Linked DNA regions of Homo sapiens: region 1 is linked to region 2. The links are contacts of gene promoters, found by promoter capture Hi-C in blood cells and fetal thymus (Javierre and others, 2016). All regions are on one chromosome and are shown on one strand. The core of a region is centred on a gene start or on the middle of the fragment in contact, and the rest is flanking DNA. Distances in the headings are between cores, read along the strand shown.

Region 1 (2,700 bases), core at 197-2,696, 700 kb after region 2:
TACAAAAACAAAACCGTTCATCCCTCACAAGCCAGTCCTCCCCACTTTTCTGTTTCTGATCTCGGCACCGTTGTCTTTGCAGTTTCCCACATCCAAAGCCTCAGGTTATATTTGTGCCCCATTCTCTTTCTCTTTGGTCCCCCACATCCAAGCAGCTGCCAATTCATTTTGAGCCTCCCCTTCCATTTCTCCTAAAACACTTTCCCATCTACTCATTCCACCCCAGTTGGGGTTATGAACTCTCTTGGAAATGCGAACTTTTGTCTGCTCTTCCTGTCTCCAGCTGTCCTTCCGTGCATGCACCAAATGAGTGTTCCTGGGCTGAGCCCAGATGATGTCCACACTTAACTGCTTTCCTTCTTGGCCTCGCGATCCGCTCTGTGCAGCCTCTGCTCCATTTAGGCAAGTGGGCCATTCTCTGTCCCTACAGGGTCCTCCCACGTCCCCCTGTCTGCCTCAGAGTTCTGAACTCCTGCCGCTGGGAATTTTCTCCCTGTCTATCTCCACCTTTCAAAATCCTACCATTTGCATTATTCAGGGGTTTGGGTTCCAAAAAGAGGAAGTGCCTCTGGGTACCTTAAGCAGAATAGGAGAATTTACTAGAAGAATATCAAGTAGCTCACAGGGGAACTGGAGAGCAGAAGGGGTGAGAATGGAGCTGGCTAATTCCTGTGGGAGGGATGTGCTGGGACTATTTCAGCCATGGCAAATTGAATCTCACCCTCTCTTGTCCTTTTCACCCTCTCCAGTTTCACAGTCTTGAGTGGGAGGGTTCCATTGGCCAATCCCAGGCTGTTCACTCTCACAGGGCTTCTGGGAATGGAGGGACCAAGGTGCCTACTCTGCCTCCCTCCAGGGTTCAGACAGGCTTCTCTAAAACCAGGAAGGGGCTAGAGAGGGGGGCAGCCAAATTAAAGGCAGCTTCCCACCATGTAATCTCTCAAGGTCATTGCCAATGCCACCACCTTTCATAAAGCCTAAAGCTTCTCCTGATTCTCTAGACATATTTTCTTTGGTACTGTTCATATTTAGTTTTATATTATAGTTATTTGTATGCTGGTTTCATCCTTCCTTTTGGGTCTTTCCTCTCCATTTCTCCTAAACTATTTTCCCATCCTTTCACTCCACTCCAGTTTGCGTTATAACCTCTCTGAATAATGCAATCTTATATCTGCTCTTTGCACATCCAGGTGTTCTTTGGTGTCTGCACCAAATGAATGAATCCTGAAGTGGATCTTATAATGCCTTACAAATAGAACTACACCAGATATGCTTAATTGAATTGAGGGTTACAAGAGAAGGTCATGAGAAAGGAGACATGAGTGTTTACCATGTGCTGAACACACAGTTGAGACATGTTTATATTATCTCCTTTAATTCTCACAACGCTTTGCAAGAGCACTATTAATATCTGAGGCTCAGAGAGGTGAAATGACCCCAAGGCACAGGCTCCAAGGTAGGCTTTGAGCCTCTGACGTATGACTTGGACAACACCCTCAACCTTGCTTTGTGTTTTCCGTGAGTCTAAGGAGGGGTTAGAGAAGGCCTTGAATGGAGCTCTGAAAGAGAAGGACGGGGACAGGGAATTCCTAGCTGCCTTCACACCACAGAAGGCTGAAACTAGTGTGACTCAATGTGGCACTGTGGGCAGAGCTGAGTGACTGAAGCAAACAGCTTATACTGGACAGAGGTAAAAAGGAGATTGTATGGCAGGGCTAAGTTGGAGAGGCCTTTGGAAGAGAGATCATAAGATGTAATGCTGATGTGATTTTAGGCAAAAGTTTACTGCACCTCCTTCCACTCCATGTTTTTTATGCTTTCAATACTTTGTGATTGAAGACAGTAAAACAGATGTGGACACATTAATGGAGTAGAATGCAGAAAAACCTATATATTTTTAGATAAAACATAAGCTTCAAAGAAATGTCTCCCCCATGTTAAGCCTTGCAGTGGGTTGGATGTTGGCCCCAAAAGATATGTTCACCTGGAAGCCGAGAACGCGACCTTATTTGGAAAAAAGGTCTTTGCAGATGTTGTAAGATAAGGATGTCGAGATGACATCATGCTGGATTAGAGTGAGCCCTAAATTCAATGATACTTGTCTTTACAAAAAGAGAGAAGGGAAAGGACACAGGGAACCAGGTTGTGTGAAGACAGAGAGGCAGAGGTGGGAGTGACACTGCCACAAGCCAAGGAATGTCTGCAGCCACCAGAAGCTGGAAGAGGCAGGGAAGGATTGTTCTCTACAGACTTTGGAGAGAGGCTGGTGTCTTGATATCAGACTTCTGAACTCCAGAACTTTGAGAAAATAACCTCTGTTTTGTCACCTAGTTTGGGGTCATTTGTTAAGGCAGCCCCAGGAAACGAACACAGGCCTCTAAGGGCTAAATACCCCAGCCTCTCTGGGGGAAAATGCTCAGTCTTCAGTCATCAGATAACTTTTGAGGAGACTGTGGTGGGCAATGGGGAGCCATGAGAAGTTCTTGAGCACAACCAGGGACAAATGGAAACAATTTACAGGAAGGTTAGGATGACATTGATGTCCAGTGTGAGTCTGAGGGATTTAAGAAGGAAGTAATGGGAGACCAGTTGGAAGGCAGTAGTTGTGGGGAATTGAACAAGAGTTTTGGAGTCAGGTACATGCTCTGACCCCAGTTCTTTGATCCACTGTTCAAGTGATTTCATCTGTAAAATGGGTAT
Region 2 (2,700 bases), core at 196-2,695:
TGCCCTTAGAGACAATGGATGACAAATGTTTCCTATTCAGATCTTAGTTAATCTCTTTAGGATTGGGAGGGTCTGGAAGAAAAAGATCTAGCTATGTTAATACAGATTCTTTACAGATGCATATCCCACCCCTCCAAGGACAGCTTTGCAGGGCCATTTCAAGATATGGCAAAGAAACATGTTTTGGGGTAAAATATTTTGATTTTCTTCCTTGTCTTGTAATGTTATGCCAGAGTCAGGTTGGAAAGTAAGTCACCATATATAGGGTTAAGTAAAACCCATCTAATAAGAATTTATGATTTGTAGGGCATGACTCCCCAAATCCTGTAGATAGGAATCTTGGGCAAGATAAAAAAATCAGAGTTTAGTCCTCCGACCTCTGCCAATTTCTCAAGATATCTTTTGCTAGTCTAAAAGCTAATAACAAAAAGAACAACAGGATGAGCATTTTATACAAGTAAATGTATTCCATTTAAAAGATTTTTCTTTATTGTGAAATTCTGCCATTCTACCTTTTTAATGCTAAAAAGTTCTGTTTCGTGAAATGATGGTGATAGTAGACGGCATTTATTTGCTTGACAACTTTGTATGATCTCAGATTTTCTGTGTGTTTTACTTTTACTGACCCTTCAAATCTAAGTGTGTGTAAACCCTTTTAAAGTGCGTTACTACATCATTTAGTATGTGTTTCGTAGAAAGCAACCTGGGAGTTAACTGCCAGGAGCACGCAAGTTTCAGAAAGCAAGACATACTCATCTCTATTCAACAATTAATCAGTTCTGATTGGGTTTCAAGTAAGGCTTAGTACCAACGCTTAGGGAGGGGCGTGCAAAAACGAGAAAGGTAGTGTTTGACCTTACCGGTTTAAGGTTTATCCTGTGCATTATACAGTTAAGAAACAACGCAGGAGAGTGCCAGGGAACCGAGAGGGGCTTGACAGTTGCTGCAGGAGAGTCTTGACTTGGAACCAGACGAACGTGGAAAGTTAGAGGAGGGGAAAACCCCTACTAGGATAAGGCAGACAGGAATCAAGGCTTGGAGCGCATCTGGGGCCCCGGCCGCCCTGCCCAGGTGGAGGAAGAGCCGGCTCGAGGTGCAGCAAGGGGGCTGGGAAGGAAGGGCTGGCTAAAGCGCCACGTGGATGTGAGTGCCAAAGAGACTAGGAGAGCGTGGAAGTGAGTCCCGAAGAGACTGAGTTCAGGACGTGAAGAGAAAGAGGCCGAGAAAAACGACCCACCAGCGATCCTTCTTGAGGTCGACACCGAGCAGGGGTGGAGTCGGATACGCCCCGCGGACACCATGCACCCAATCAGCGACGAGCTGTCGCGGATCGCGGGACACGCCCCCTGATCCAAAGGCCCGAGAAGCTCTTGCACAGGACAGCCTCTGGAACCCCGCGCCATTAGCGCCTGCGCCGTCTCTAGGCCCCGCCCCCTCACCCCTCCGGTCCTGGAGCTCCCACAGCTAACATGGCGGCGCCCTGTGTGTCCTACGGCGGAGCAGTTTCGTACCGGCTTCTTCTCTGGGGTAGGGGTAGCCTCGCCCGGAAGCAAGGCCTCTGGAAAACCGCGGCCCCTGAGTTGCAAACAAATGTCAGATCCCAGGTAAGGCCTGGGAAGACTGGAAGCGGCTTACCTCTGCCGCGCGAGGATGTGGAGCCAGCGCGGACACCTTCCCCCAGCGTCTCGCGTGCCTTCAGGCAGGGACTCTAGGATCTTAGGTATTTAGTGGAGGTCTGAGGTTGGGGGGGAGGAGGTGGGTATTGGCGTGCAGTAGCCGCTCTAGAGGTTGTTACTTGTTTTTTTGCGGGGTGCAGCGAGGGGAACTTACCTGAAGGTAGAAGTGGAGCGACCTCCTCCTTCATTTGGCTGCTGAGCTAAGTAAGGGTCGGTGCCTAGGTCTGTGTTGGGTCCAGTCCTACCCTGCCCTGCTGTCTAGGGAGGAGGAGGGCCGCGCCAGAGAAGAATGATGGGAATTGGATTCCTGCAGGTGCCTGGAAGACAATGGAGAAAGTCACGTTGTGTAGAGGACAGTGACTTTTTGAAAGTGCCTTCAATATGCGCAATTTCTGGCTTCTTAATTTTCCCGAATCCCCCTCTATGGAAAGATGCAGGCCAGAACTTGTACGTTTCGTTTAATCCAGGGAGAAGTGGGGAGTCAACAGCTGGATGGCTGATGATGCCAGTTTACTGACATGCGATCTCAGAGCAGGAAAAAGATTTGAGAGGGAAGAAACGAGTTTAGTATGGGATTATGTTTTTAGGCATCTGGGATTTCCAGTAGGTCTACGGATAGTCAAGTGTATAGCTCAGGAGGAGAACTGATTTCGAAATGCCCTGTTACCTTGTAAATGGTAACTGAGGCCTTGTAAACAAATTAAATTACCTAGGGAGAGTGTACTGAGGAGTAGGCAGAGGGACAGGGCCCTGAAGGACAAATAAGAAATAAGAGGCCTCAAGAGATTGAGAATGAGGGACCAAAGAAGCAGGAGAGAAACCAGCCAGTGTGGTGTCATGGAAAACAGGTGAATGTTTCAAGGAGGGAGAGTGATAACAAGTACCAATTATTGCAGGAAAGTCAAATACCATACTTTAAAAACTATATTTAAAAAAAAAAACATCTTTTTGTATGTTCTTTCCTTTATATTTTAATCTAGATCAACCAGTCCATTCTATCTATTCATGTGGACATTTGTTTTTT

The links. Contacts are between HindIII fragments. The CHiCAGO score rates a contact against its expected background, and 5 or more counts as called.
Region 1: a contact is called between a fragment that was not itself captured here and the fragment with the promoter of MRPS9 in region 2, in 1 of 17 cell types (fetal thymus). The highest score is 5.1, in fetal thymus.

Annotation. Positions count from the first base shown.
Region 1 is chr2:105,739,775-105,742,474 of GRCh38, forward strand. No RefSeq gene overlaps it. Among named protein-coding and RNA genes, the nearest start is that of NCK2, 3.8 kb to the right of the region's middle. The HindIII fragment of the contact is 930 bases long and covers 982-1,911 here.
Region 2 is chr2:105,036,624-105,039,323 of GRCh38, forward strand. MRPS9 (mitochondrial ribosomal protein S9) reads left to right here and starts at 1,446. Exons shown (of 11, transcript NM_182640.3): 1 at 1,446-1,604. The coding sequence starts at 1,470. It overlaps MRPS9-AS2 (MRPS9 antisense RNA 2), which reads right to left and starts at 1,873. Exons shown (of 3, transcript NR_110603.1): 1 at 1,831-1,873. RefSeq lists enhancers at 853-1,062, 1,083-1,132, 1,183-1,232, 1,403-1,732, 1,486-2,428. The HindIII fragment of the contact is 6,591 bases long and covers 1-2,700 here.